Linked DNA regions of Homo sapiens: regions 1, 3, 4, 5, 6 and 7 are each linked to region 2. Evidence: promoter capture Hi-C in 16 types of primary human blood cells and fetal thymus (Javierre and others, 2016). All regions are on one chromosome and are shown on one strand. Each heading gives the region's core, a stretch centred on a gene start or on the middle of the fragment in contact. The rest is flanking DNA. Distances are from core to core; before and after follow the strand shown.

Region 1 (4,196 bases), core at 890-3,389, 1.5 Mb before region 2:
GGTACCCATTTAGGGGACCCTCAGGCCCCTAAGTCAGTTACTTGCATTTGACAGTCGTAATGTGAGGAGCACTGAATAAGGCACAGTCCAGGTGCTCAGAAATAACAATGACCAATGGGCCAGGTGCACAGCAGAGATCAGTGTTAGGAGTCAGACCTGCAGGTGTTGCATCGGAATCCCAAGCAGGCACTGGCCCCCATACAAACTCGCCAGGCCTCCGTGTCTTCACTGTAAAATGGAATCGTAACAAGCGCATACCTCACAGGGATCCTGGGTGGCAAACGAAATGGGGGACCAGGGTGGACAGGCAGCATGGGTAGTGGTTAAGAATGCTAACTCTGGAATAAGATGGCCTGGGTTCAAACCTTGCCCCCTCCTCCAACTTAGCTGTGCAACATGGGCAAGTTACTTCACCTCCAGATGCCTCAGTGACTCCATCCATAAAATGGGGACAGTCATAGTATCTGCTTCACAGGGTTTATGTGAGGATGAAATGCATTCACACTTCTAGGCAGTGCCATACTTACAGCAGCACCTGGCACTGGACAAACACTATGGAAAACAGTGCCTGACACAGAACAAATGCACTAAGAGCATTTCCTTACACACACACCTGGAAACCACTTGCTCTAGTAACTGGCACAGAGTGGGTGTGGCATAAATGGTGGGAGAAATTCATCATAGCCTCTTCCCATCTGGGGGTGTGCTGAGATGCTGGAAAAGAGGGTCATCAAAAAAGGAGGAAAAATCCCTTAGCTCTTAAGCCCTAAGAAAGTGCTTCACAGCTTTTCCTTGACCATGAAAAATACAGAAGCAACACCCGCAGAAAGAATAGAATCCTAGTAATTTTGTGTTCTGAATCAAGCTAAGTTTGACCTTTGAGCAAATTACTGGCTCTCTGCTAAGAGTGTACAGACCCATCTATTCATCATAGACTTCACTGTCTGGGAATGAGCCCCGGAGCCCAGGCTCTGCAGGTTGTTGCTGTTACGTAAGCCAGTGCAGGAGCCGTGCTGAGAAAAGGAAACTGCGCAATCTGCTCAGGTTCCCAGGAAGGCCAGGGTCCTTGTCCCACCTGAGGAGCTGACTTCTCAACTGGCAGCAGATTCAGGCATGCACACTGCCTTCGCCGGCCACTGGAAGGGCACTGCTCCCAACACCCACTCACACGCTGCCTGGATGGCTCTGATGGGGGCCACTGGGCAGGCCGGACAGGCTGCCTCAAGGAGCTGGGGACCTGTGGTGTCAGACAAGCTGACCACCCCCCGGCAGGGGTGGGACATACGTGTGAAAAGGGGAGTCTGGGGGTCCCCCACACAGTCCATCTACGCAGATGCAGGCCAAGCTCCCCAGATAAGCCTGCCTCAAGGATTCTGGCCGAGGAGCAGAGGGGGCCCTTCCTGGAGGTCACCTGCCCTTGAAGCAGGTAGAGAAGACATCTTAGTGTGGATCAGTGCTGACATCTGTGGAGAGTGGACTCTCGGCACTTTCTGTCTGTGGACTCACGTCCCCATCCCCGGAGCCCTGTGAGGTGGCTATTATGAGCCCCATCCTACAAGTGGGCAAACTGAAGCACCCATGTCCATGCTACCAGGGAGCAGCAGTGCCAGGAAGAAGCTCAAGTGCCCGGCCTTCTTAACCTCTAAGCTCCAACAGGTGACCTCCAGTATAAGCGGAGGCCTTCCTGCCCTCCAGAAAAAGCCGAGAGTCTCTGTAGCGTGGTTCCCTCCTGCTTCTTTTGAATGAACGACTGGGAGGGAAGGCTGAGGAGACCCACAGGGGCCCAGGGACTGATGCAGGGAACCCCCTCACTGGGGAAAGAGAGAAAGAGTTGGCTAAAGTAGAAAAAACTCGAAGTGCAAGCAGGGCTGTGGCTCCTGCATGACCGAGAAAGCCTCCTTGCCCACTGGAGCCTCAGCTGAGGGCCTTCTCGAAGGCTCTGCTTTCTATATTCTCTCCACTCCCTGACCACGGCAGGCTGGGTTCTCGTAAGGTTTAGAGCCGTCTCAGGGACAGGAGCAACCCCCGCTGCCATGCAGAAGATGCAGAAAGTCTTCTTTTAGAAGCACTGGAAAATACATTCGAACCGGGATGGGCATTTCCTGATGATGTTGGAACACCAACACAGTACCTCAGGGTGCTTTCCACCTCGACAAAGGGCCGAGGACTTTGCCTCCCTGCCTTTATCTTGCGAGAACCTTTGCACTGTGGAGTGAAGGAGCTCGGCTGAAAACTCAACAACTGCACAGCCCTTGGCTGGACCCACACTAGGGAAGGTGTCTGCGAGGCTCGGGCCTGCTCACTGTGCTGTGCGTTGGTCTGCACACACTGGGACTTCGGTGATAACTTACAGAAGGGAAATGGGAGGGGAGGAGTAAAGAAGGGGTTGGACAGTGACACCAGCTTGAGACAGAGAGTAAGAATCCTGGGCTCCCAGTCTCAGTTTCGTCATGAACTTGCTGTGTGATGTGGGCCCAATCTCAGCATCTCTGGGCACAATGAGTGGCCACCAGGGCCTTTCTAGCATTCATATCTTACCCTTCCATGAATGAGCGAGGAACCCGTGCAGCCCAGTTCTGCAGCTACCAGCCACATGGGGCTATGTCAATGAAAATTAGCAAAAGTAAACACTCCTCGGTAGTACTAGCTACATTTTAAGTGCTCAATAACATGACAATTTAAATGAAAATTAATTAAAATGAAAAAAATTAAAAGTTCAGTTCCTCAGTCATGTCCACCACATTTCAAGCACTCAGTGGCCACAAGTGGCCAGTGGTTACTGCAGTGGACAGTGCGGATACAGGACACTCCCACCACCCTAGGGAGTCCTCCACAGGGCAGCATCGAGAGTGTGCAGATGGAGATGTGGCTCACAGAACGTTCGGGAAGCTGCTTCTTTAAAGAAGAATTGTGTGTCAGCTTGGAGCCTATGTAAAAGTAATGAAAGAAAGCTAGATGTGTCTGTTGGGGTAACTAGGTCTGTAACAGGGAAAGTCATCAAGATACCTGAAGGTGAGATAAAATACCATATTGCCACACCCAAGCTATGGTCAGTGGTGAAAGACTAGCGTGTTTCCATAAGATGAGAATACCCATCTGCTGCCTCTATAATGTTGAAATACAATTTGAAGTATTATAAACAAGATGGAAAAATCATCATTATTTGCAGGTGATACGATTTTATACCTAGAAAATGCAAAAGAATCAACTATTAGAAATAGTCAAAGGCTTTAGCACAGGTGGTTGGTTACAAAATTAATACACAGAAACAATAATCTTCTCTATATAGAGGTAAAAATAAGTGTAATTTAAAAATCCCATTTTTAAATAATTTCTTAAATTTACATAAAAATGTTCATATTGAAGAATCTAAAACATAAATACAAATTAAAGAAATAGATAGGGTCTATATAAAGAAAACTTCCACCCTGTACTGAGTAGAGAAAAGATGGCTTACATAAGTAGAATAACACCACAGGAACCTAGGATGTAAAGACGTCAACTCTCCCTAAGTAACTATAAACCCAAAGCAATCTCACTCAAAATATTAACAGGTTTGGATGTTCCATTTTCGTTTTCATTCTTGTAAGGGAGTAGAGGACAGTTTGAAAGTAACAGTATACTTCTAGAGTTCCCAAAGAAGAAGCAGCAAATGATACTAGCCAGGAAAACAAATACTGGAAAAAAAGAATAGGACAATTCACTGTATTAATTGTTAAATCACGCTAAAATGTAAGATCACAGTCATGAAAACAGTAGTATGAAACTGGCTTAGAAATGAACAAAAAGATCAAGAGAAGAATCCTGATAGAAGAGCATATTTGATCATTTAGGTGGTATTTCAAATCTTCAAAGAAAGAGCACTGCTTAGCAAACAACATTGGAACATCCCACAGGTAACATGCAAACGAGAAAACCAGAAATCTAACTCACTCCTCATACCAGAATGTCCAGTGAATTAAAAGCAAACATCAACAACAAAAATGTACAAGTTCTAGAAGAAAACCTACTCCTATACATCTTGGCCTAGGTATGAAACAACCTCAGGAGAAAGGAAGGCAAAATTTCTGCATCTGAACTACAAATAAAAATAATACAAAATTCTATGGAGTAAAAACACCATAAAATCAAATGGCAAACTGGAGAAAATATCTGTAATATGTGCAGTAAGGTACTAATTTCCTTAATAAGCAAAT
Region 2 (4,043 bases), core at 902-3,401:
CCTGTAGTCCCAGGTACTTGGGAGGCTGAGGCAGGAGGGAGGCTAAGGGAGGAGATCACTTGAGCCTGGGAGATCAAGCCATGATCACGCCACTGCATTCCAATCTGGGTAACAGAATGTACCTTGTCTCCAAAAAAAAAAAAAAAAGAAAGATTCTCTTTGAACACTGTGTGCCTTTGAGAAAAGCTATGTGTTAGGCCGAGCATGCTGGCTCACGCCTGTAGTCCCAGCTACTTGGGAGGCTGAGGCAGGAGAATCGCTTGAACCGGGGAAGCAGAGGTTGCAGTGAGCCAAGATGACACCACTGCACTCCAGCCTGGGTGACAGAGCGAGAATCCGTCTCAGAAAAAAGAAAGAAAGAAAGAAAAGCTACGTATGAACAAACAAGCAATCACAAAAGGATTTCTTTTTTCATTACTGGTACTAAAAGAAAAACCATACCTCCTCTTGATTCAGAACTTCCGCAGAGTTTTCGTCTTCTGATCCGGCTTGTTCTCCCTTTTCCTTTCTGCATGCTAAAACTGTAGTTTCTTTTTTCTGAAATACAGTTCTATTTTTTCAAAAAGGACAAAACTGTAATTTCTGTGGAAATGCTCAATCTAAAATAAAAAACATTTCTTTGATTTACTTTCCAGTTATATGATAATCACTGTTCTTTGTACCTTTAAGTATACAAATGTATGTTTTGGTAAACTGTTTCTCTCAAGTGCTTTTGTACATGAAACGTTTATACTGTGAGCTAAATCATGATCCCTACAGTAACAGAATTCCCATTATATCAGTCCCTCTAAAACAGTTTTATCTTGCAGACCTAGTGACTACAGCTTAATCTACTAAAAATACAAAAAATAGCTAGGCGTGGTGGCACACGCCTGTAATCCCAGCTACTTGGGAGGCTGAGGCAGGAGAATCGCTTGAACCTGGGAGGCGGAGGTTGCAGTGAGCCGAGATCGCGCTACTGCACTCCAGCCTGGGCGACAGAGCGAGGCTCCGTCTCAAAAAAATAAAAAAATAAATACATAAATAAAAATAAAATAATGGCTGGGTACAGTGGCTCACGCCTGTAAAACCAGCACTTTGGGAGCCCGAGGCGGGCTGAGGTCAGGAGTTCAAGACCAGCCTGGCCAACATGGTGAAACCCCGTCTCTACTAAAAATACAAAAATCAGCCGGGCGTGGTGGCAGGCACCTGTAATACCAGCTACTGGGGAGGCTGAGGCAGGAGAATCGCTTGATCTCAGGAGGCGGAAGCTGCAGCTAGACGAGATCACGCCACTGCACTCCAACCTGGGCGACAGAGCGAGACTCTGTCACAAAAAATAAATTAAAAAAATAAAAATAAAAAATAAATCTACTTCTAAAACATACGAGGGCAGAAATGAGCAAGAGACAAGAACTCCAGGCAATATTAATACCGCACTTCCGCAGTATAAGGTTCATTATTTGACCTAACGAAAGTCGGCATGTCCAGCTCCAGAGGCGAACGGCGGCTGGTTCGGTGCGGGTCCCAGCGCTCAGTCCACAGACCGCGCCGGGAAGTGTCCCCAAGACTCCCGGGCCCTCGCGCGAGCTGTCCACCATCACCCTGCTGAGGACCACGTGAAGCCCGGTGACCGCCACAGACACAGGCACCGTCCCCGCCCCCATAGTCCTCAAACTCTAGCCGTGAGGCCGTCCTACGGTCCGACACACACCGCTCCCGCAGCCATAGGCCAGCCAGGCGAGCATCGGACCTCGGGCCTCAGGCTCCTCAGCTTTACGCAGCGCGCCGGAGCAACATGCGCTAAGTGTAGGACTCCACAAGATGAGAGGTTACTGCAGCGCACACGATAATGCCTGCCCTGGAGGGGACCTGCGACCTAAACTCAGTTCTTTTTACGCTGATGAATGAAAGACTAAGGAACGCACCCCGCCGACTCTGCTCCCGTTACCCGGGCAACTGGAGGCCCGACCCGGAAGTCCTACTAGCTCACCTAGGCGCCGGCGGCCGCTTCCAAGATGGAGGCTGCAGTGGGCGGGCCCAAGGCACGTGGAAATACCAAACAGCCCCAGATGAAGGCAAGTTAAAGGAACCGGCCAAAACTGCAGAGGGAGAGGCTGAAGGCTGTCGCGCCTGCCTGGTGTCCTTAAGCAATCCAAGTCCTCAGTCTCCCGGGTCCGCCCCTTCCGCCGCGGGCGGCAGCTTCCGGCTCGCGCATGCGCAGTGTTCGCGGACTCGCCGCCAACGCCCAGTACAGTCGGGGACGAGGTCGGCACACCCACAGCCCCATAACCCCTACGTCGAGTCAGGGGTCAGAAAACCCAGTAACCCGCAGGCGAGCAAGCTGCGCACTGAAAAGCCGGCCTGCGGAGTCTTTCCTTACGAAGTTAAACCACCTAGGGCGCGCGGCCCTGTTCGCCCAGACCTCGGGCTTTCCTGCCAGGCTGGGTTTGCCGGGTCGAGTCACTTTGCTCGCCAATCCCCGCCCCCATTCCACCGTTTCATTCTGGCCCCAGGACCCGCCTCACAGGAAAATTCTAAATAATATATCTAAATACCCCTTCTTCCAATAGCGGGAGCTCGATTTCTGCCCCACCCACCCCCACTTTGATTATGGGCTATGCCTAGTAACTTGATTCCAAAGAGTACAGCCTGGAATGGTGTTGGGGACTACAGTGGAGAAACCTGGCAAACAGTACCTTACCGGGTGGTCAAGGATAACATCAGGAAGAAATCATGCTGATAGCATGTTCCTGTGGTGTCTCTCTCCAAAACCCTTCTATGGAAATCTTCTATGGGGGAAAAAAAATTAGTACTCCTAAACATGTTTTCTGTCATGAAAAACAAGTACAGTTGTCCCTTAGTGTCCGTGGGGGAATGGTTCCAGGACCCTGCGGATACCAGAATTAGAATGCTCAAGTCCCTTGTATACAATGGTGTAAACCTAAGTAACAAAAGAGGCTCCCTAAAAGAAAATGAGATTTATCTGGGAGTAGCATTGCAATGGGAATATGCATGCCATAGTAAACTGTGTGCGTTTTGGGGGAGGTTGAGGCAAGGAGATGTTTTTAAAAGGAAAATGAAGATTATATGAATTGCTTTAAATCAATTATCTTTGGCTAAAAGAATGAATAACAAAGGTAGCATCAGTCCAAAGTTGCTGGACAGATGTCCTTGCAGAAGGATTTTCTGTGTTTAAGATTGGGCCTTTCTGCAAGGTTAGGGTCTTTTGTGACAATTCTTGTTATGAGGCGTAGTGCATGAGAACCCTTCCTTCAAGGCCTTCCCCAGCTGCATTTATCAGGGTTTTGACACAAGTGACTCCATTTTGATTCTGCAACTTTCACAATGGTGTAATATTTGCATATAACCTATGCACATCCTCCCATATACTTTAAATCATCTCTAGATTACTTATAACATCTAATACAATGTAAATACTATGTAAATAGTGAAGGGGTGGCCTGCCGCTCCACACCTGTGGGTGTTTCTCATCGGGTGGGATGAGAGACTGAGAAAAAAAAGAGACACAGAGGCAAAGTATAGAGAAAGAAAAGTGGGCCCAGTGGACCGGCGCTCAGCATACGGAGCACAAATCCTATTTAAACTACAGATTCTAAACACAAATGATTTTATTCACCCCTGCCCCCCAACACTAAAAGATTTAAACACTAACATAGTTTCTAACAGCTGTAAACTAAACAAATCCTAAGCCCCTACTGACTGAATGGAACCCCTTTTGGCCAAGATGGCCCCAGAAAAAAACTTAGAAACTTAGTTCCCAGCCCTGATGGAATGTGAGGTCAGACATGCCTCATTATACCCTCTCTCTTTTACAGTTTAGATACAACTGGCCAGCATTGATGTTAAAATAGAGACCATGAGACTGATGGAACAGACTTTTTGTGGCAATAAGATACAAAAATTATAAACAAGACCTAAGGCCATTCCAGGAAAGAGTTAAGTCACTTCAAGAATAAATTCTGTTCTAATGGTTACAAGTTTTTTCTTTTTCTCTAGCAGCTAAACAAGCACTCACCTCCACCTAAGCAATATTAAAACAA
Region 3 (4,173 bases), core at 1,559-4,058, 1.2 Mb before region 2:
GATTTTTAATTTAGTTTCTCAATGTTCCAGACGTAACAAACACCTGACCAGACAGGTAAAGGCTGCCCAATCCATACCACCAGGACCAGCCCCCCAAGACGGGTCAGTTAGGGTCCCCACTGCTCACTCTCCTCAACCTCTCCTTGGCAAAATATCTTCCTCCATGGCATTGAACCAATTCCTGCATTGAAATTATTTAATGAAATCTCTGTAGAGAAGATGCTTTGGGATCTCAATATTAGCATAGAGACACCTAAATTACAGATTTGTGAGCTGAGAGCTGGAGTTTTTCATTAGATCCTAGAAATATAAAACATACATTAAAAAAACAACTCTCAGCCATTCGTAGTAGCTCATGCCTGCAATCCCAGCACTTTGGGAAGCCAAGGTGGGCAGATCACTTGAGGTCAGGAGTTCGAGACCAGGCTGGCCAACATGGTGAAACCCCGTCTCTACTAAAAATACAAAAATTAGCTGGGAGTGGTTGTGGGCATCTGTAGTCCCAGCTCCTCCAGAGGCTGAGGCGGGAGAATCGCTTGAACCTGGGAGTGGGGCAGAGGTTGCAGTGAGCCGAGATTGTGCCACTGCACCCCAGCCTGGGCAACAGAGTGAGACTCTGTCTCAAAAACAAACAAACAAACAAACAAAAAACTCTCAAATATCCTTTTCTTGAAAAATCCTTTCGCTCTATCTTTTGTGCTTAAGGAGGAGACACTCTCAGTATATCAACAAGCTACTAAGTGCTCTACGTGCTAACCGAAAACAGAGCCCACCTTGGTGCTGGTAAGAACCCATTCCAGGCAGAGGATACCTTTTGATGGTGCTCTTGCTCCATGATAAAGTTAATTTTTCAACAATTAATAATTTCTATATTACTCTAAGATATTTCTTAAAATCCTATGGAATATGAGAAAAACAAGTTTTGATTTTCTAAGGGGCAGGTCCATTACTGTAAAAGAGCAAGAAACCATCTGAAACGAAAAACACTTTAAATTCCCTTTGGCGTATACTTTTGGCTACAGCTTCACCACTGAAAACCCTGGAAGAGGGGAGGGATGCATCAAGTTTACCCGTCGGCATGAAAAACAGACGAGCTGTGGCACAGCTTCTCATTCTCAGTCCTTAACTTAGTCAGCGGAATGGCAGGTTGAATGGCAGTTTGTCCCTCCAAATGCCAGATAACTGCTTTATTTAGTTAAGCTTGCACGCATACCTCAAGTCAAAGGCTCCACACCTGCAATGAGGCACTACCATTTGCCCTTCTATAATAGACAGTCTTCGAGATGAGCCAAATATGCCAGCCAATCATATAAGCCAACTCCTCATTTTAAATGTGAGGATACCGAGGCCAGGTCAAAGAGTCTATAAGAAAGAAATAGATGATGTACAGACAGTATGGTATGGATAGAGAGATGAACAGATGAATGGACAGGTAGATAAATGAAGGACAGCACAGAAGTAGACATCAGGAACTCCTCATTCTGTTAACGCTTCATCATCAACTATCTCTTTTAAAGCTAGGCAAACCGTTTCATTTTTCTGGGGCTATTTTCCCTTACCTATGGGGTGATGATCCTAAAGGCTCTTCTCAGGCCCCTCCTAGCTCTCATTGTCTTTGATTTTATGAAACTAGAGAATTTTCCAAAATGATTCAATTTGACCTTGGCAATGCCAGGGCCATTTTGCCAGGATTTCCCAGAATTCATTGCACCATAATCATGGAGGGGACTCGGGAGGTCTTATTCATCCAGAGATCTGGCAACATCTGGGCATCCTGATTTACATGCAGTGTCCTCTCTTTATGTTACACTGGAAAGCAACTGTGAGCAAAGCTTACTATAGAAAGTTCCCACCCTGAATGAAGACGTTCAAACCATAAGAAACCAGCATACTAAAATTAGCAGTGATGGCCCCTCTTGCTTCACAGGGCAAATAGAAAAGTCAGCATTACCCAAGTCAACCTGGGAGTCTGCATGCACTTGGCTTTTTTCTAGAAGTCCCTTGTAAAATGTGAGACTTTCTACCTGGGGCTATTGCACCTCTATATATCATACTTATACTTATTCCACGCATTTAGTTTTTCCCCAGGCCCCAAATTCCATTTGGCAGGGAAGACTGTGTAAAAATGGATGCTTCTTTGGCGCAAATCCCTTCTGTCTGCTCAGAGGGTGCTTCTCCATATAACAACTGTTTTCTTAAGTTGTAAAACAGCAGGGGCAGAGTAAACTGTATATACAGCCAGACCGTTACAATCGCATAGACATCTTTTTTCCCCTCTGACTGCCAATTCTTAAAAGTCAGAGTCGCCACCATTTGTTTTCTGAAGCTCAATAACTTTGTTATTTCTTTGAATGTTACAGGAAATGCTGGCAGTGAGGCAAAACCCAGCCTTCTTTATGCATGAGGAAATAAGAGAAGTAGAGGGTATACCCAGGGTCACCTGGCTTCGGCTTCTTCAGGCTGGTCGGCATTTCAACTGTCCCAGAGACGGCTGTTGCTTCTAGTTCTAAATACAGTGGTTCTACAGCCTCCTGAAGGAGCATTTCTCTAAGTTTAGTCACCCTCAAAGTCGATTTTCTTATACCTAACAACTGCCTCCCTCCCAGCCAGGCCCCTTGCCATAATTCAAGCCTGCTTCCTCTTTGGTCCTCTGTGGAGAACAAACTTGCTTTGGTGTTTATGTTCTGTTTAATGCAGGGTTACATTAACGTAGGAATGTCCAGGTTGACATTCCTACTCTGGAAACCTAAGAAGAGCTCACAGTCATTCCTTAGACCTGTGTGGTCCTGTCTGTGTCTATGGCCTGCTTTTCACTCATAAAGAAGAATCAGGGTCTGTTATCAAGTCCCACAGTCTCCCAAGTCTAGGCATGGCCAGAAAGTCTCGATCAGAAAAAGCTGAGAGGGCCCTCTGGGGAAAAATGCAGTCAGATCTGGAGGGAGTCACCGAGCACAGCAAATGGAAGGAAGGGAAAAAGCAGACGAGGAACACCATATCCTGGTGGCCTGCCCCTGGTGGGCATGGTGATTATTTGCAGAGCTCCATCCACTCAAGGACTTTGGGAAAGTTGATGCAGCTTGGGGAATGGTTCCAGAAGGTGACCCAGATGCCATGAGGTTGTGGCCAGGACCACAGGGAAGGCTGCCATAAAAGCTGCCGTGATCACAGGATAGCCTGCAGAGAACTACCTTAAAACCCCACCTAGAAACCACCATGCAGGGAAGGTCATCTAGAGGGGACTGGAGCAGTAGCCAGGGATGAAAGCAGGGATGCCCTACTGGGGATCACTAACATTTCCTGCCTTCATTCTCTGCATCAGGCACACAGCATCATTTGGCTTGATCTTATAAAGAAGCTCTCATTATTATCCCCATTTTACAGAAGAGGAAAGTGAGGTTCAGCAAGGCTCTGTAGCTCACTGAAGGCTTAAGAATTCCACTGGCTTGCCCATAAAGCCCAAATTCTTAACCACTTCATTTTACAACCTGACCTCCCTGCATCTTGGCTTTTGGGGACAGTAGGAAGCCCTGTTTTTCAATATCCCTCACTCCAAGAAGAGAGTATATTAATTTTCCACCAGGGACCTGATACGGTTTGGAGACATCTGGATGCTGGGCGGGGGTGCTGGGCAGTTCCACAGACCTGGAACTGTAACCCAGCCTCAGATCCTGGGGAAGGGTGTGGTTCTGGAAAAGAGCGTTACTCTGGTGTTTACTCAAAGATAGTCATTAAGTCACTGTGAAGACATCTTTTCTGCAGACTAAACAACCTCACTCATTTTTTTAAAAGCTTCCCTCACAGGAGTTATTTTTTGGTACTATCTTTCTATATTTACTGGTTTTCCCCAGACATTCTTCTACCCTCCCACTCTCTATCTTAAAAATGCCTGTAATAAGATTTTGATCTGTGCCATAGAAAGAAAAGGGTCATTTTCATAGTTTTCATCTCTGGCCCTCATGAATTAATAAAAGGCCAGCATAGACGGTAATTACTCCCTTGTGGTCCACTCTGACCCTCAGACCTCTTTGGGCTGCCTCTGTGCCTGGCCAATCTTCCATTTACTATTTGTTTCTGATCCTGTTGAACTTTACTGTATATTGAGGAAGCAGTCCTTAGTTTCATGCTGCCCTGAATGGTTCTAACATATGATTCAGTCAGCCTAATTTCCTTTTG
Region 4 (4,175 bases), core at 1,481-3,980, 1.4 Mb before region 2:
AGTCCCTCTGCCGGGATGCCGGCCACACAAACACCTCCCCAGGGAGCTTCTTCCTGTCAACCTGGTCCAGGCTGTGCAGAGGCCTCCCTGGGCCACTCCATCTAAAGTGGCTCCCTACTAACTCCTCTGTGTAAGTCCCCTTTATCCACACTGTCCCCAGAGCCATTATCTACCCTTCTGTGGGCCCTGAAAGGATGACCCAACCTATGGACTCCACTGCAGGGGCTCCCTTGCCTCCTAGCTGTCCTTTGAGTTCTGCCAATGAAATCAGAAGCCTGAGAATTTCTTCCCTGCCTGTACCCTGCCTTAGCATCTCAACTCCACACCTTCAAGTCTACAGCTCCTGGCAGGCAGCTCCTCCCCTAGGTTTCCAGCCACGTGACTTCCTCCCCCAGCTCCAGCTTCCAGCTGTTGCTCATGGCTGCAGGCCTGGACATCCCTTGTTAGTTCCCTCAGGACTGCCCCAATTCACCAGCTCTTCAACAAAACCCCCACAGTGTTAGGACCTGACCACTCTGACCAAGCCCCCTCCCCTTGCTCTCTATCCCTGTTTCAGTCTCTTCATCGCATTTATCACTATCCGAAATGATCTTGTTCACTTGCCTTTTTCCTATTGTCTATCTCCCCCTCAACCACTGGATCCTAAGCTCCATGAAAGCAAGGAGCTTGAAATGTTCCCTGCTTTATCCTCTGGGCCTAAACCAGTGGCTGGAACACAGTAAGCACTCAATAGACAGCAAAGCCTGAATGAACCAATGCTACATTGTCTCTGCTCAAAATATCACCATATCAGTAAGACCTTCCCTGATCATCTTATGGAAAATAGCAATCTCCCCTCCACTCCCAGATCTCCACTCCCTCCTCCTGCCCTCCAAGTCTTATTTTTTCCTATAGCATCATTACTTTCTGATACATTTGATATTTCTTTATTGCTTGTTTCCCTTCCAAAAAATGTCAACCCTGGAGGCAGAAATGCTATTTTATTTACTGATGCAGCCTCAGAGCCTAGGACAGTACCTATCCCGTAGCGAAGTCTCAATAAATATTTGTTAAAATGAATAGCTAGCGAAGTGGGCAAACTTTCATACAACACAATTTCAGGATTGTATCCAACACTGGAAAAAATTGTCTCCAACACTACAAGTAAGTGCCGTCTTACGTGACTTGACCTTGTTCTAGCAGAAAGACAGCCTAGAACTCCTAAGGAAAAGGTCTGAAATGCTGGCTAGCGCTTAGTTTATATGGAGAGGAAAAGGTTTTAGAGTAAGATCAATCAGTAAGACCCTGAGTTCCTGACAATTGCTGCTCTAGAAAGCATGCCTGGAAGCTTACCTAAGCACACGGCCATTGTAATTCCTTTCAGAAAGTAAGTGAACATATAAATTATAAATAAATGACACTTACATACACCATTCTGTTTCACAGTGGTGTTGTATTGGCAGCAGCCTTCAACTATAGTTCATTGACAGCATTTGTGGACCCACAGCCAAGCGCTGAAAGCACTGCTTTTTTTGACAGCTGCTCTCCTAATGGGGCATCTCTCAAAGACCGGTTTCATTCTGTGACGCCCACGTTGTCCACATTTTATTCTGCACAATAACTGCAGATTTGAAATAAATTCTTCCTCCCCACCACCATTATTGATTACTCATACCTGCCCCTCACCCTCCAAAGTGTCTAAATTGTGTGGATTTTGCGGGGGTGGGGGGAGGCGGGGGAAGGAGTCGACTCCCCATGTACTGGGTGTCCCCGATGGCGGCAAGCCACACCTTCACACAAGGGGGCAAGGTTCTTGACTAAATATCCTAAAGGTCTGAAAGATGGTCCCCTTCCCCCCAACACAATTCCACCAAAACTGGCCAGCCGCTGGCTAATGAGCAACCACGGATCCTCACCCAAACATTGGCTTTTCTTCCAATAGTGCAGATTGGGAATGCAGGGACGTCGTCCTATTTATGAACACTGAGTCACGTCGCCGCTCAATGTCTGTTTCCTCCTCCCTAGGAATGAGGTGACCCCCTCCTCCAGCGAGTAAATGCGGGGCGATGGCGAGAGCGCAGGGGGCGGCGGCGCTGCCCCACCTTGGGGAGCGAATTCACCCCCCTAGTCGCACCAGCCTGGGCGCACACGGGGGCCGGGGCGAGCCTGTGGGACTCTGCAGTGAGCTCCGCGCGCCCCGGGGGTGCTAGGGGACCGGGACCCTCGGGGCGCCGTCCCCACGCCCCAGCCCTGACGGGTCCGCGGCCGAGCAGCCCGGGGGACGTCGCTGCCTCCCCGCCCCGCGCGCGGCCGGGACTGGGCGCTGCGACCCGCGCCGCCTCCTCGGGCAACAAGTGTCCGCCCTCCGCCCCGACGGCCCGCCCGGCGCGGTCCTCACCCGGCACAGGCCGTCCACGAACACGCGCGGGTCCAGGTGACAGGCGATGGTGGCGCTGGGCAGGTCCTGCAGGTCCACCTCCTCCATCTCGCAGTCAATGAAGCTCCAGTCGCCGCCGCCCTCGTCCGCCTCGGCCGCCCCCGAGAGGGGCGCGAAGGGCCGCAGCGTCACCCCGGGCCGCGCTCGCGCCTCGGCCGCCTCCGCCGCCTCCGCCGCGGCCCCGAGCTGGGGACCGGCCACGCCGTCCTCCATCCCCGCGCCCGCGCGACCCTGTGCGCCCCAGCGGGCTGCTCCGGGCTTGCGCGCCGGAGCCTCACGCGCTCCGGTCCGCGCCCGGCCGGCGGCTCCGCCGTTAACCCCCTCGGAATCGCGCGGCGGCAGGCGGCGGGCTGTCAGCAGTCTCCCAGCGACACGGCCTCCCAGCGCCAGCCCCGCCCGTCACCGTTCCGCGCGGGAGGGGCAGAAGCCCGGCGCGGCGACCGCCCCCCCAGCCCCTAGGGCCGGCCACCGGCAGATCCAACGGTGGCCCCTTTAAGGCCGGCGCCGGTTGGGTTATTGTACCCCGCCCTTCCAGGAGACGGGGCCAATAAAGGAACGGAATTCTCTTCACGTGACCTTCCTTCTGCCGCCCGAAGCCCGAAGCCTCAGGGCGGCCATGTTGGTTAGGGGCAAAGTCCTCGTCCCCAGTTCCGCTTTTCTGACAGCTGGTGCCAGCTGAAGGACGCCGGGCAGAGTCCTCGGCTCTTGGGCCCTTGGGGTGATAACTGGGGAGGCAACGTTTTTGTGGTTCCCATGCGGGGACGTTTTGAAGCACAGGGGCCCACTTTTGGGAATTTAAGCGAGACATAGTCTCCCTGTGGCTCTGTGGCCCCTGGCAAGTGGTTAGATGCTTACCGTATATTATCAGATATAGTCGCAATAAAGACTGAACTAGACCATGATAACAATGCCTTACTTTTCTATTTCAGCGTATTAGTCACTATACCATTGTGAAAATTTATGTAATTAGAAGTAATTTTTCTGAATTACCATTATATGCTATGTACAATAGGACATAACGAAAGAATTAAGAGATCACCCCTTTCCTTTGGGGAATAGCGGAAAAATAAGAGGACCTCAAGTGAGCAGACATGTCTCTTCCTGAAAAATAGAATTCTTTTTTGGACAGTATGATACAGTGAGAACTTGGGTCTGAATTTCAGCTTTGCTTTTTAACTACTTGTACAAATAAGCTGAATCTTAGTTTCCTCATCTGAAAAAAATGAAGACATATTACTAAGAATTCAGTCAGTGCTTAATAAATGGTAGCTGTTTATGCACTGGGTTCTTTGGAGGTTGTGAAATTACAGTTATATTTTTTCTTAGAGTAGGCTTACTCTCTAGTTAGGAAGTGTTAGTAATTATAACAAAAAGTATATCCAACAGCTGAGATTTATTCAGAACTTGCCATGTGCACGGTTCTATGATTACTATTATCATAGTCTTAGGACAGTTTGTGTCCTCAGGGAGCTAAACCCAAGAGGAATAATAATACCCATCTAGAGATAACTCATAAAATAGAATATGATATGAGGATGTGAAGAAATTGGAACCGTCATACTGTGAAAGGGAAATCTTGGGCCCCCAAAATCACTAAGGAAAACTAAAGCTGGAAGTTGCTTAGAGCCAACCAGCCTCCCATTCCATTCAAAGTCACCCCTCTGCTCACTGAGACAGATGCATTTCACCGAGACAGATTTGCCTCCTTTATAAAGACTAATCAGAAACCCAAAGAGTGTAACCGTTTGTCTATCACCTA
Region 5 (3,997 bases), core at 22-2,521, 1.4 Mb before region 2:
TGGATACCTTAAATACCCTGACTTGATCATTACACATTCTACGCATGTAATAAAATATCACATGTACTGCATAAATAATGTACAAATATGTATCAGTGAAACAACTGACAATGACAAGGTTCCTTTTATAACCCTCACTGTTCCAGATGAAAAACTGAATCAAGATCATATAGTTATTACGAGATAGGGCAGGGATTTAAATCAGACCATTTAATCCAAGAACCACCCATTTCACCATGATTGTCATGTGTGTCAGTTCCATGTAATGTTCTTACTGACCTGCAAGATGATGTGTACGTGCTTCAGGATCTACTGACTAGCAGGCTTTGAAATCCCTGCCTCCTAGTACAACCTATTCTGCAGTGACACTCTTCTTTTAACTGAAATGTACCTTACCAAGTAACTGAAGAAAGCCAGCCAGATTAAGAAGCGGGTTTGGGGCCACTTGTAGGTAAGTGAGTGCAACTGTTTGAGGAGAATTCCAGGCAAGGAGAAACTTTACTCAGCTCTAAGTGTATCCTGTGATCTAAATGTTACAGATACATTATAATCCCACGGGCTCTTCTGAAAGGAGCAGATACCTGCTAGAGAAAGAGCAGATTTCTATGGAGATGAGGCCATTCCTTCTGGAAAAGCAACAAAAGCAACAAACCCTTACATTGTTTATAAGCCCTTAAGGTTTTCTTGTAATCCGAGTTTACCTGCTTCATGATTCCTTATAATATATGGCAGAAGGACTGTATAATTATTAAAAGTTACTTAAATATCAACGCTTTCATTTCTTGTCATCCACCTCTGAATCTGTCACCTCTGTTTAACCCTCCCTGGTATTTAAATAGCTAATCTAGTGTTGGAGGCCAGGTTAACAACGTGCACGTCTCTAAGTGACTTCATAGCGACCTTCACACGTCTATTTATTTGGTATTTCCTTTGTGTTCCTTTATATGAACTGACTGAGCCCTTGCTAATAATTAAAAGAATTTGCTAAAGTATTCTTTTGGCAAAGTCAGTAGATAAGAATTTCTGTAAGTGGCTCATGCCTGTAATCCCAGCACTTTGGGAGGCCGAGGCGGGTGGATCACGAGGTCAGGAGATCGAGACCATCCTGGCTAACACGGTGAAACCCTGTCTCTACTAAAAATACAAAAAATTAGCCGGGCGTGGTGGAGGGCACCTGTAGTCCCAGCTACTCGGGAGGCTGAGGCAGGAGAATGGCATGAACCCAGGAGACGGAGCTTGCAGTGAGCCGAGATAGCACCACTGCCGTCTGGCCTGGGCAAAAGAGTGAGACTCCGTCTCAAAAAAAAAAAAAAGAATTTCTGTGAATAGTGTGTCTTGTGACATTAGCTTGCCCACCAAAGTATAAAACTAACTGAGAAAAGTATTTTCCAAAACTAGTTCAGGTTGGTGCATATGTATTTGAAGGCACGTGTGTATTCACTCATTCAGGAAATATTTATGGAGCTCTACTATGTGCCTGGTCTATCCTAGGCAATGACAAGCAAAAACCCCTGCTTTCACAGAATCACCATCCTAGTGGGGTGAGGTAGGGCAGACAGATAACAACTAGAATATATTATGTGTCAGATGAAGATAACTGCTATGGGGGAAAATAAGGCAGAGAAGGATGCCAGAGAGTAGGGGTTGTGTTTTAAAATGGAATGCTTGGGGCGGGCATGGTGGCTCATGCCTGTAATCCAAGTACTTTGGGAGGCCAAAGCAGGCGGATCACGAGGTCAAGAGATCGAGTCCATCCTGGCCAACATGGTGAAACCCCATCACTACTAAAAAAAATACAAAAATTAGCTGGATGTGGTGCCATGCGCCTGTAGTCCCAGATACTCGGGAGGCTGAGGCAGGAGGATCACTTGAACCTGGGAGCTGGAGGCTTCAGTGAGCCGAGATCACACCACTGCACTCTAGCCATTTTATAAAAGTAAAATGGAGTGCTTGGGGAAAATAATTAATCAGAGACTGCAGCAAGGTAAGGGAGTAAGCCATGAGAATATAGGGGGCATCCCAGGCAGAGGCCCAGCAAGTTCTAGGGACGGCAAGCAGGCTGGTGTTTTAGGGGCTGCAGAAGTCTAGTAAGCCAGAAAGAGACTGGGATTGCCTGATTTTATAGGACCTTATACTTCATGCATAAAGACTTGACTTTTTCTTACTGTGAGACAGAAAACCTTTGAAAGATTTTGAGCATAAAAGTGGCATGGTCTGATTCATGATTTCCAAAGAGGATCAGCTGGCTGTGGAGTGGAGAGCAGACTGTCGAAGGCCAGGAACTAGTTAGGAGGTGGTGGCAATAATCTAGGTGACAGGAGGTGATGGTGACTTGGACTGGTACAGTGGTAATGGAGATAGAGAGAAGAGGTTGGATTTTACGTGTGTGAGTGTGTGTGTGTGTGTGTGTGTGTTTGTGTACTTTCTAGTGATGGCATCTCACTATGCTGCTTCCAAGCTGGTCTAGAACTCCTGGGCGCAAGTGATTCTCCTGCTTCAGCCTCCCGAGTAGCTGGGACTACAGGTGCACCACCATGCCTGGCTTTGGGTATATATTTTTAAAAAGTGAAGCCAGTTGGATTTACTGGCAGGTTGGATGTAGGGTTTGGAAGAAAAGAGCTAAGGTTTTCAGTTTGGGCATGTCTGTGCACACGTTGGCATATGTGTCTACATAAAGCTTAATGTTATCCAAAATTATCTCATTTCTTTTTTTACTTATTTTATTTTTATTTTTTTTTTGCTTTATACCATTTGAAGAGGGACCTTCCCAGTCTTGTTTATTGCTGTATATCCAGTGTCTGGAACAATCTGTCTCTTTCTCTTTCTCTCTTAAAAGAAAGTATTTAGCTATCGGTAATGTGGTTACAGAAAAATTGTAAGGAGCTGTTATTTTCTGTCTTCTGCATTTTCAGCATTGAGCCTGCATTTATTTAAAAACAAACTTTATTTAATTTCAGAAGATTGAACAAATTTGCAAAATTATATAATAGAAAATTTTAAAATGCTTATTATCATTAAGTGAAAAATTCTACATTCTGCAGACAGAATGTTATTTTGAGAGCCAATGTTAATGTGAGTAAATGACCCCAAACCCTATAAAAGAATAAATCCAAACCCTATAAGATCAAATAGCCTTGTGTGATCCACAGGATCAGTTTCCAGGACAGAATAGACTTTATTAGCATTGTTTTTCTGCAAGGACATTATTCAGGCCAGTTCTCAGCCACTCAGCCAACAGCTTTGTTTCCGACTGTGCCAAGTCTGCAAACAGTAGCTGATCATCTTTAGCTCAATTCAAAAGGAGGTTTTTCTAGATATTCCAACCACACCCCCCCCCAATAGCCAGCACATTTCTATCAAGTTTGATTGAGTTAGAGTTTATGAAATATTTCCTGAATGACTGAATACACACGTGCCTTCAAATACATATGCACCAACCTGAACTAGTTTTGGAAAATACTTTCCTCAGTTAGTTTTATACTTTGGGGGGTAAGCTAATGTCACAAGACACTCTATTGACAGAAATTCTTATCTACTGACTTTGCTAAAAGAATTTGCTAAATATTATTACTCGCATGAGTGTCTTTAATTTGGTTCTTTGTAAACATTGAGCATTGAAGACGGTTTGTTATTAAGGACAAAGTTATGTATCTAACTAATCTCACATTTTTCTAAGCAGCGCAAATAAACCCAGAGCCCTTCAATGGTTCACAGGTCCACAATCCTTTTATACACATTCTGAAATCCTAAAAGGCTCTGAATACTGAAAGCTGTTTTGGGAACTCATCTAGAATCAGAACCAGAAAGGCTTGAACTCAGCTGGAGGTGAACCTAAACTGGGGGTGGGGGGCCTGAAGCTTGTATGATTTTACCATATCTCACCAAATGTGATGCCTGTCTTACTGCAGAAATATTAATGTGTTTGATCACAAAGTGATGTTCTGTGTTATGTAATATACAGTAAAATCACTCAATCATCTTTCTAACAATTCTGTTT
Region 6 (4,214 bases), core at 1,006-3,505, 1.4 Mb before region 2:
TGTCTATTTGGAAGATGAATCAATTTATCCATCTATCTGCACAACAGATGGATGTATGAATGACAGCCATGTAGAAATAGCTACTCTGTCAGGTGGTCCATTTTTAATTATACATTTTGTAGAATGTAATTTTATATTACTATCCATAAGTTCTTTTCACCTAAGCCAGTGATGTCTCAGCAGCCAGATTGTGTTTACAGACCTTGACTTTGAGCACAGTAACTTTACAACTATTAAAGCTCTATGGCACATGAAAGATTATTTCCTTCTTCCTCTTTCTACGGTAGGAGACTACAGTGAGGAGTGTAAGTGAAGGCCAAAATGAGGGAGAGGAAAATAAATCACTGTAATTATAGTACACAAGCAAGGAGGACCTGGAAATGTGACCTAGGTCATTCCATGTCCCCTTTCTGCAGTTATTTCTTTAAGGAGCAGCCCTTATTTTTACAAAGGAGAGGCAACACAGTGCTGATGAAGTGGCTGTCAGTTTCAGGGCACCCTTTTGGTTTCCAGGTGTGAGAGTTCAAAACTGTCCTGGAGAAGCCAGGCAGTTGGGTCCTTTTCCATAAACCTAGATTTTGCCTTCCAGCTAGGGAGACTCTCCACTGGAGAGGGTACCTGGCTACTGAGAGAGAAGAAAGCCTGGACCCATTGTTCTCAAGGCTTTATGCTTTTATTTTCCTAGCTTTGGTGGGGTGGCAGGGTGGGGGGTGGTGTGTAGGATGCTGCAGTCCAGTAGGAAGAAGCTGATATGCACTCCAGCAATCCCCCAAGCGGTGACCCTGGTCCTCCTCTAGCCACCTGGGGACATGGGGATGATGAATCAAAGCAGAGATGAACAGAGGACACTGTTTTATTCCCTGGCTGGAACACACAGTGATATTCTGATGGGGTCCTTAGGGTGAAGGCCATATGGCCTGTCCAAGACGTCGGCACATCACAGCCATCATCTGCTTTGAAGGCCGCACAAACTAAAGGTGTTATTGGTCTGGAGATCCAGTGATACTCTTTCTCCCTAAATAAGAAAAATCAACACTTTTTTGGTGCCTTTGGTGTGAGAGCCTTGGAGGTGAGTTCAAAGAACCTTGGAAAGACTTAACTCTCTCCCCCAGCTTTGTTCTCTTTGTTTTAACTCCGGGTTGGATGTCTTCAACTCTCTTCCCATAAATGATCAAACTGGATGAAGTTTTAGGTTGCACTCGGCGGCTTCTCTGTGTCATGTAACTCTCCAAACAGAGAATCCAGTGCTTAAAGAAACACAGAGCTATTAACACATCAGACATGGAGGGGGACATTTTTTTGTTAGCTGCCCTTTTTACTAATATATTATAATGCTTTGAATCATAAATAACAGCAATAAAGCAAGAATGTTCTGTCACTCTCCAGGTATTGAGGCTCTGGCTAAGGGAAGTCCTGCACATATGTAGCTCCACCCATGGCTGAGTACAAAACAACAACTCCATTGCTTTTAGACACTACTAAGGTTTTCTTAACCCATTTATGCCTAGTATTCCATTATTGGACCGCTAAGCTTGTGGAAGTTATTTATATCCTACTGCTCAATGTCATCACCAAGGTCTGCTTTTTCACACAAAAAATTTGCAACCTCAGGCATAAATGGGTTAAGCCAGTTCAACTTAGTAAATAACTAAAATGCTCAAAGCATTTATTAATATGATTAAGAACATATGCTTTGGCCGGGCACGGTGGCTCACACCTGTAATCCCAGCACTTTGGGAGGCTGAGGTGGGCAGATCACGAGGTCAGGAGTTCAAGACCAGCCTGGCTAACATGGTGAAACCCTGTCTCTACTAAAAATACAAAGTTAGCAGGGCATGGTGGCACTCGCCTGTAGTCTCAGCTACTTGGGTGGCTGAGGCAGAAGAATCACTTGAACTCAAGAGGCAGAGGTTGCTGTGAGCTGAGATCACGCCACTGCGCTCCAGCCTGGGTGACAGAGTGAGACTCTGTGTCAAACAAAACAAAACAAAAACCCAAAACCAAAAACATATGCTTTGAGCATTTTGGCACAGCCTGGAATCATATAGTGTGGTGGATTAAAGATGGCTGCCATTTCTTTAATACTCCTATTAAGAAGTGAGGTTTGATTCTCCTCCCTCTGAATCTGGCCTGACCTTAGTGACTACTTCGTAACCAGCAGAATATAGTGGACGTGATGCTGGGTGATTTTTGTCCTGCAAGACTGTGTGGCTTCTGCCTTATTCACTGACCATCCTGAGGTCACCATGCTGGAGGGGCTACCTGTGGGTGCTCCATTTGACAATCCTAGCTGAGCCCAGCCTTCCAGCCATCTATGCAAGATGATGGGCATGTGTGTGAAGCTGTCTTGGCCCCCTCAGACCAGCCCATCCGCAAGACACTGGGCACATGTGTGAAGCTGTCTTGGCCCCCTCAGACCAGACCATCCACAAGACACTGGGCATGTGTATGAAACTGTCTTGGCCCCTCAGAGCAGCCCATCTGCCAGCTGAACACTGCTGAGTAACCTTCGTCAGTGCCACACGGAACAGAAGGATCGCCCAGGCAAACCTCGCTCAAATCCTTCACTCACAAAATCATGAGATACTATAAACCAGGTACTCTAGGCTGATAAATTGTGGGTAATTTGTTACGTGGCAATTGGTGACTGGGATATGCCATGACTGATGTCTCCTCTAAGCTAGTGAAATCTGAGTGGGTGAAAAGACAGGGCCAGATGGGAGGTGTGGAGTAACAGTTGAAAGCAATTCTAAAGGGGAGGGGGCAATCAGAGGAAAGGAAGGAGGCTCCATGCAGCCAGTTCTTCCATTTGGTGCCTGCATTTTTTCCCTTTTGAGTCACTGTAGGGATTGGACTACTCTGTCATTCAAGAACCTAAACCACCGGGATATATAAAAACAGGCTGCAATATTAAGCAGGCTTTCTAGAACAAGATGTTCCTTTGTTGCAATAATTCCTTGTGAGAATTTCACAAGGAAATAAGCTTTTCATCTCCATGTAAAAGCTTCAGTTGGTATCAGGCCATATTATTAAATATGGATTAAAAATAGCCCCGGAGTTTTTAAAGCATAATTCATATATAAGAATAGATGGCAAATACCAGTTTGTTTGCTCAAGGACTTCTTATGCCTTGATTCCACCTGCTGTTACAATGAACACTAACATAATTAAGCCTTTTGCTAGAATTGAAAGCTAGGAGCAATGTGGTTCAGTAATTAATCAATGTGAGTCGAGGGTAGTCACCCACTTAATCCATTGAATAATAAATTAATTGTTACAACAGCTGAAAAGAAAAAATACTATACATACTTAGGAATATGTTTAGGATTAGTAGTTTTTTTTAAATGTTTACACCTATGTTTGAAAGTGTTAAGATCTAAAATATATTTCTTAGCATCTAAATGTAGGAGTGAATAAAGTTAATTTCTAAGTTTTAATGAAGAGTGAGAAGTCTGTTTTAAGGGAAAGCCTAGCTCCTTTTATGGCCTGGAATGAGGAATCTGGCAATAAATTTTACTGATAATTACAGACAACGAGCATTGGGATGGAGCTGTCCGCTCCACTGGGGGTATGCAGTGTAAAGTATTGGTTGAGCATGCAAACAAAGTCAGTCTAGAAAGTGTGGACTTTTATTTATTTACAAAAAAAAATTTCTTTTCTAAAATAGGCCTTGCTGCAATGATGATACATGTTTCCTTTATAGACTTACAAGAAGTGTGATGCCTACTATTTGTGTCATAGTTTGAGCTGGTATAATAACAATGGACAATACTAGCAAAGATGTGAAAACGAGGGGACACAATAGTCTTTCCCCTCAATTCTCATCAGTGTGGCCGCCCCCCACCATTGGTTTGACTCTTATTCGGCTCGGAGCCTTATTTCTGCTGCTGGGTTTTGCTGGCTGTTGCTGTCCTCGCTGTCTATTTTTTCTCCCCACTAGAGCGCAGGCGAGGGAAGACAAAAGACGGAGAACGACGGTTCACCCGGGTGGTCTCCTCTGCGGCTGGCGTTCCCCTGGCCTTACAGAGAGGCTAAGAAGCAGAGACGCCTTACAGATAGTCTGCATAGACGCCCTGTATGGCCCATCTGCTCTGCCCTTGTCCCTTTCATTGTACGATGGCTTGACGCCTGCTCCACCTCAGGTAGCTCCATCTTGCGCCTAACCAAGAGGTGGGGGATAAGACCAGCGAGGGTCTCTAGTTTGCTAATATAGA
Region 7 (3,810 bases), core at 181-2,680, 1.4 Mb before region 2:
CAAAGGGGGAGCAGGCACGTCACATGGCCAGAGCAGGAGCAAGAGAGAGGGAAGTGCCACGTACTTTTCAACAGCTCAATCTTGTCAATCTTGCAAGAACTCACTGACTATCGAAAGGGCAGCAGCAAGGGGATGGTTCTAAACCATTCATGAGAAATCCACCCCCCGACCCAATCACTTCCCGTCAGGCCCTGCCTCCAATACTGGGGATTACAATTCAACATGAGATTGGGGCTGGGACAAATATACAAACCATATCACTTATATTCAGTAAAGTACCCAAACCTTAAGACTTTTATCACTCACATACACCCGTGTAGCCACCGTGCAGATCAAGACATAGAACAACATTGCCACCACCCAGAAGCCTTCCTTTTGTCCTTCTGAGACAATAGTATCTTCCAGGGACATCTGCTGTTGACTTCCACCATCATAGACAAGTTTGCCCTCTACCTACCCTGAATCATGCAGGAAGCTTTGAGTCTGGTGTCTTTCTCTCAACATTGTGTGTGTGAGATGCACCCACACTGTTGCTTGTATAATAGCTAATTCTTTTCCATTGTGGTGTAGTATCTCAAGGCATGGAAATACTACACTGACACAAGTATTCTACTCTTGATAGTATCTGGGTTGTTTCCAGGTTTTAGCTATTATACCAAAGCTGCTAAGAATAGTTGATCCTTGGAGAGGATCGAGAGATAGAGGGAAGGAAAGGGCGTGTCTTTCTTTTTCACATTGGTGATAAAGGGAGTTCCCATTGCTGCTCCTTCCATCAGTGAGCTGCTGCTCAGAGGCCCAGTGTGGCAGGCAGTGGTGAGGTGGTGGGGAAGGAAGAAAGAAAATGCTCAGTGCAGTGCATACATGTGCATGTGCGTGCGTGTGTGGTGTTCTCTCCCCTAACCCCTACATCCACCGCCAACTCCACATTGAGGCTGGTAAAATGGCCTCAGGAGGATATTCGCAGCATCCTGACCGTTCTTATCAACCTGCAATGATTTTGCATGTGCATGTTGTGGTGTTGGCACTTATAATTGTGAGACTGGCTCAGATAGAAATCTCCTTCTCCACTTGTAGGCTGGTTATGATGGTGAGAGTATCGGAAATTGCCCGTTTTCTCAGCGTCTCTTTATGATTCTCTGGCTGAAAGGCGTTATATTTAATGTGACCACAGTGGACCTGAAAAGGTAAGACAAGGCGTCTGCCTTACTGAAATAACTGTACCTAGTTCTCTGCACACACACACACACACACACACACACACACACCTGAGGCCAACGGTGCTGCATGGGCACGTCCATCCTCAGTCGGAGTCTGAACTGAAGCCCACATGTGGGCCAAGCAGTCATGACAGGGTCGGCTGGGCTGGAGTCAGGAAGGAGGAGGAGTTGGGGGTGCCGTGAAGAACCTGCTTCTCCAGTTGCTGGTCAGCTGTGACTCTCCCAAGCCTGTCTGAGCACCATCCCTGGCTGATAACACTGGGGAGAGTTAACTTTTTCACCTCTGTTTGTTGATATGCCCCTTTGTGCTCCGTATTCACAAAGGGGCACCTCAACAAGCCCATCATTTGTTAATGAATGCCTTTACTTTCATCGCCAGCAAGACATTTTCATAAACCCACCATCTACTTTGCAGTTCTCAAGAGTTGCTTCTCTTAAACTGGTGAGGACGCGGCTAAGCCCTGGAAATGAGTCCAGATTCTCACGGTGGCCCATAAACACTGCTGTTTCCTCCCACCTAGGAAACCCGCAGACCTGCAGAACCTGGCTCCCGGAACAAACCCTCCTTTCATGACTTTTGATGGTGAAGTCAAGACGGATGTGAATAAGATCGAGGAGTTCTTAGAGGAGAAATTAGCTCCCCCGAGGTAGGCCTCAGAAAACCAGTGTTCATAACTTGATTGTCACTTTCCCCCACTAGTAGTCAGTTCTAAAGCTCTGGGCAGTGTGTGTGTGTGTGGTTTTCTGCAGCCCACGGTGCTCACTTCCTTAATCATAACCCTGGTGTAACCAGATTAGAGTTCGGGGACCTGGGTTTCATTGTGCTGCACCTGCAGCTTGGCAATCACAGTTTGATGGCAGGAAGTGGGAGGAGATGGGTCCAGGGTGGGTGGTTGGCTGTATCCTAGACACCCTGCTGGAAGCTATGGAGTATGTGTTAGGAAGAAGTATCATGGATTTTTGGACCTCGGGGGAGCTATTTCTACTCCATCCCCTTCGTTTTACTAGGGAAGCACCTGAGACCAGCAAGGCCAGGTGGGGTCCTGTGTCCCAGAACTGGCCACTGCCAGGAAACAGCAACAATCCAAACCTCTCCGTCCAGTGCCATTCTCCTAGATGTTGTTACTTCCCAACCTTTGAGAGGAAAAGGGTCAGGAAAACGTTGAAGGAAAGCTTTTCATTTTTATGCCCAGAGAAAGCTGTTTTTCTCCATTGTATAGTATTATCTTCACTAAAACATCACTTGTCTGTGATCCTCCAATTTTGAACTTTTCAAGGTATCCCAAGCTGGGGACCCAACATCCCGAATCTAATTCCGCAGGAAATGACGTGTTTGCCAAATTCTCAGCGTTTATAAAAAACACGAAGAAGGATGCAAATGAGAGTGAGTACCTCCCATCCTCCTGTTTTGTTTCAACACAGACTTGAGTCTTAGCATGGCGGCCCATACGCTCCTGGGGTATTCCCATCTATTTCCCAGTGGGTAGAGAAGTGAGTCTGGAGCTACAGAAAAAGTGCCTCCAACTTTGAATCTGCACGTGGGCTTCAAGAGATGAATGCTTCTTTTGAGGCTGGGAACTCAGAAAACAACATTTTTAGGGAAAATAGTCATCACCCAGGTGTTCCGGACACACCATGGGAATCATGTTCAATGATGTTTCTGCCAGTCCACGTCTCCCCACAGGCTTTCCATAAGTATTTTTGAATAAATAAATCACTTCTAGAAGGAGCAATATTGTGTAGACAGCAGTGTGATTTTCCAGGGAGGAGTGAGCCCTTTATTCAGATATTCTACATCCACCTGCTGCCTTCCCAGCACCCATTGCTTGCTGGCCACATCTCAGCGAGGAAGGGAAGCAAACTCCATCACAGCTGGTGAAAAGTGACATGCACTTGCAAACCTCTCTTTGTGATTTCTTGCCCTTCTGTTTTAGTTCATGAAAAGAACCTGCTGAAGGCCCTGAGGAAGCTGGATAATTACTTAAATAGCCCTCTGCCTGATGAAATAGATGCCTACAGCACCGAGGATGTCACTGTTTCTGGAAGGAAGTTTCTGGATGGGGACGAGCTGACGCTGGCTGACTGCAACCTCTTACCCAAGCTCCATATTATTAAGGTTCATCTTCCCTCCCGACACGTGTGCCGAGTACACGAACGGGGCTTTGTTTTATTTTGTTTTTACTTGTGTTTGGGCCAGACATTTAAACAGTCTGAAATGTGGAGACTTGGATTAAAAACACTAGTTCTGTTCGGGGCAGCCAAGCCCCAGCTTTCACACACACAGAAGATGGGCTTCGGGTGTTCTCAGAAAGTGCCTGGGAACATGGCCCCACCTTCTGCTTCTCTCTCAGCCTTACTCACACAGCCTAAAGACAGGTTATGTGAAAGCAGCCTGAGGAATTTCGTAGATTATACCTGGTGTTAGCAATTGAGAATTAGAGATGAGGCTCGTAGAATCTGGGGCTATTCAAATGTGAACGCAGTCTACTGTTGGTGATTGTAGGGCTCCACATGGCCCCTTCTAGGGATGACAGAGGAGTGTTCTATTAGCTTTTAACAGTGACCCTTGGCCAGGTGCAGTGGCTCATGCCTG

Evidence for each region. The method cuts DNA at HindIII sites, captures the fragments that hold promoters and counts their contacts. A CHiCAGO score of 5 or more calls a contact.
Region 1: a fragment that was not itself captured here is called in contact with the fragment with the promoter of SETD4 in region 2 in 1 of 17 cell types (neutrophils); the score reaches 9.5 in neutrophils.
Region 3: a contact is called between a fragment that was not itself captured here and the fragment with the promoter of SETD4 in region 2, in 1 of 17 cell types (monocytes). The highest score is 5.3, in monocytes.
Region 4: the fragment with the promoter of RCAN1 here is called in contact with the fragment with the promoter of SETD4 in region 2 in 2 of 17 cell types (neutrophils and total CD4 T cells); the score reaches 12.8 in neutrophils.
Region 5: a fragment that was not itself captured here is called in contact with the fragment with the promoter of SETD4 in region 2 in 1 of 17 cell types (naive CD8 T cells); the score reaches 5.2 in naive CD8 T cells.
Region 6: a fragment that was not itself captured here is called in contact with the fragment with the promoter of SETD4 in region 2 in 1 of 17 cell types (fetal thymus); the score reaches 5.5 in fetal thymus.
Region 7: a fragment that was not itself captured here is called in contact with the fragment with the promoter of SETD4 in region 2 in 2 of 17 cell types (M0 macrophages and non-activated CD4 T cells); the score reaches 6.4 in M0 macrophages.

What each region holds. Positions count from the first base shown.
Region 1 is chr21:34,594,591-34,598,786 of GRCh38, forward strand. The region is part of intron 1 of RCAN1 (regulator of calcineurin 1); the gene reads right to left. Among named protein-coding and RNA genes, the nearest start is that of RCAN1, 18 kb to the right of the region's middle. The HindIII fragment of the contact is 8,670 bases long and covers 1-4,196 here.
Region 2 is chr21:36,058,375-36,062,417 of GRCh38, forward strand. SETD4 (SET domain containing 4) reads right to left here and starts at 2,152. Exons shown (of 12, transcript NM_017438.5): 1 at 1,973-2,152; 2 at 442-550. The coding sequence starts at 514. SETD4-AS1 (SETD4 antisense RNA 1) reads left to right here and starts at 2,230. Exons shown (of 3, transcript NR_186380.1): 1 at 2,230-2,247. RefSeq lists enhancers at 1,925-2,074, 2,105-2,154. The HindIII fragment of the contact is 7,728 bases long and covers 1-4,043 here.
Region 3 is chr21:34,855,086-34,859,258 of GRCh38, forward strand. The region is part of intron 6 of RUNX1 (RUNX family transcription factor 1); the gene reads right to left. All of the region lies in intron 1 of RUNX1-AS1 (RUNX1 antisense RNA 1), which reads left to right. Among named protein-coding and RNA genes, the nearest start is that of RUNX1-AS1, 21 kb to the left of the region's middle. The HindIII fragment of the contact is 1,957 bases long and covers 1,831-3,787 here.
Region 4 is chr21:34,612,383-34,616,557 of GRCh38, forward strand. It overlaps RCAN1 (regulator of calcineurin 1), which reads right to left and starts at 2,731. Exons shown (of 4, transcript NM_004414.7): 1 at 2,378-2,731. The coding sequence starts at 2,629. RefSeq lists silencers at 2,246-2,345, 2,536-2,965. The HindIII fragment of the contact is 8,899 bases long and covers 1,326-4,175 here.
Region 5 is chr21:34,663,582-34,667,578 of GRCh38, forward strand. No RefSeq gene overlaps it. Among named protein-coding and RNA genes, the nearest start is that of CLIC6, 3.4 kb to the right of the region's middle. The HindIII fragment of the contact is 2,807 bases long and covers 1-2,675 here.
Region 6 is chr21:34,684,427-34,688,640 of GRCh38, forward strand. The region is part of intron 1 of CLIC6 (chloride intracellular channel 6); the gene reads left to right. Among named protein-coding and RNA genes, the nearest start is that of CLIC6, 18 kb to the left of the region's middle. RefSeq lists a silencer at 224-283. The HindIII fragment of the contact is 1,452 bases long and covers 1,530-2,981 here.
Region 7 is chr21:34,706,206-34,710,015 of GRCh38, forward strand. It overlaps CLIC6 (chloride intracellular channel 6), which reads left to right. Exons shown (of 6, transcript NM_053277.3): 2 at 1,075-1,184; 3 at 1,739-1,864; 4 at 2,495-2,601; 5 at 3,152-3,333. Among named protein-coding and RNA genes, the nearest start is that of LINC00160, 29 kb to the right of the region's middle. The HindIII fragment of the contact is 1,915 bases long and covers 474-2,388 here.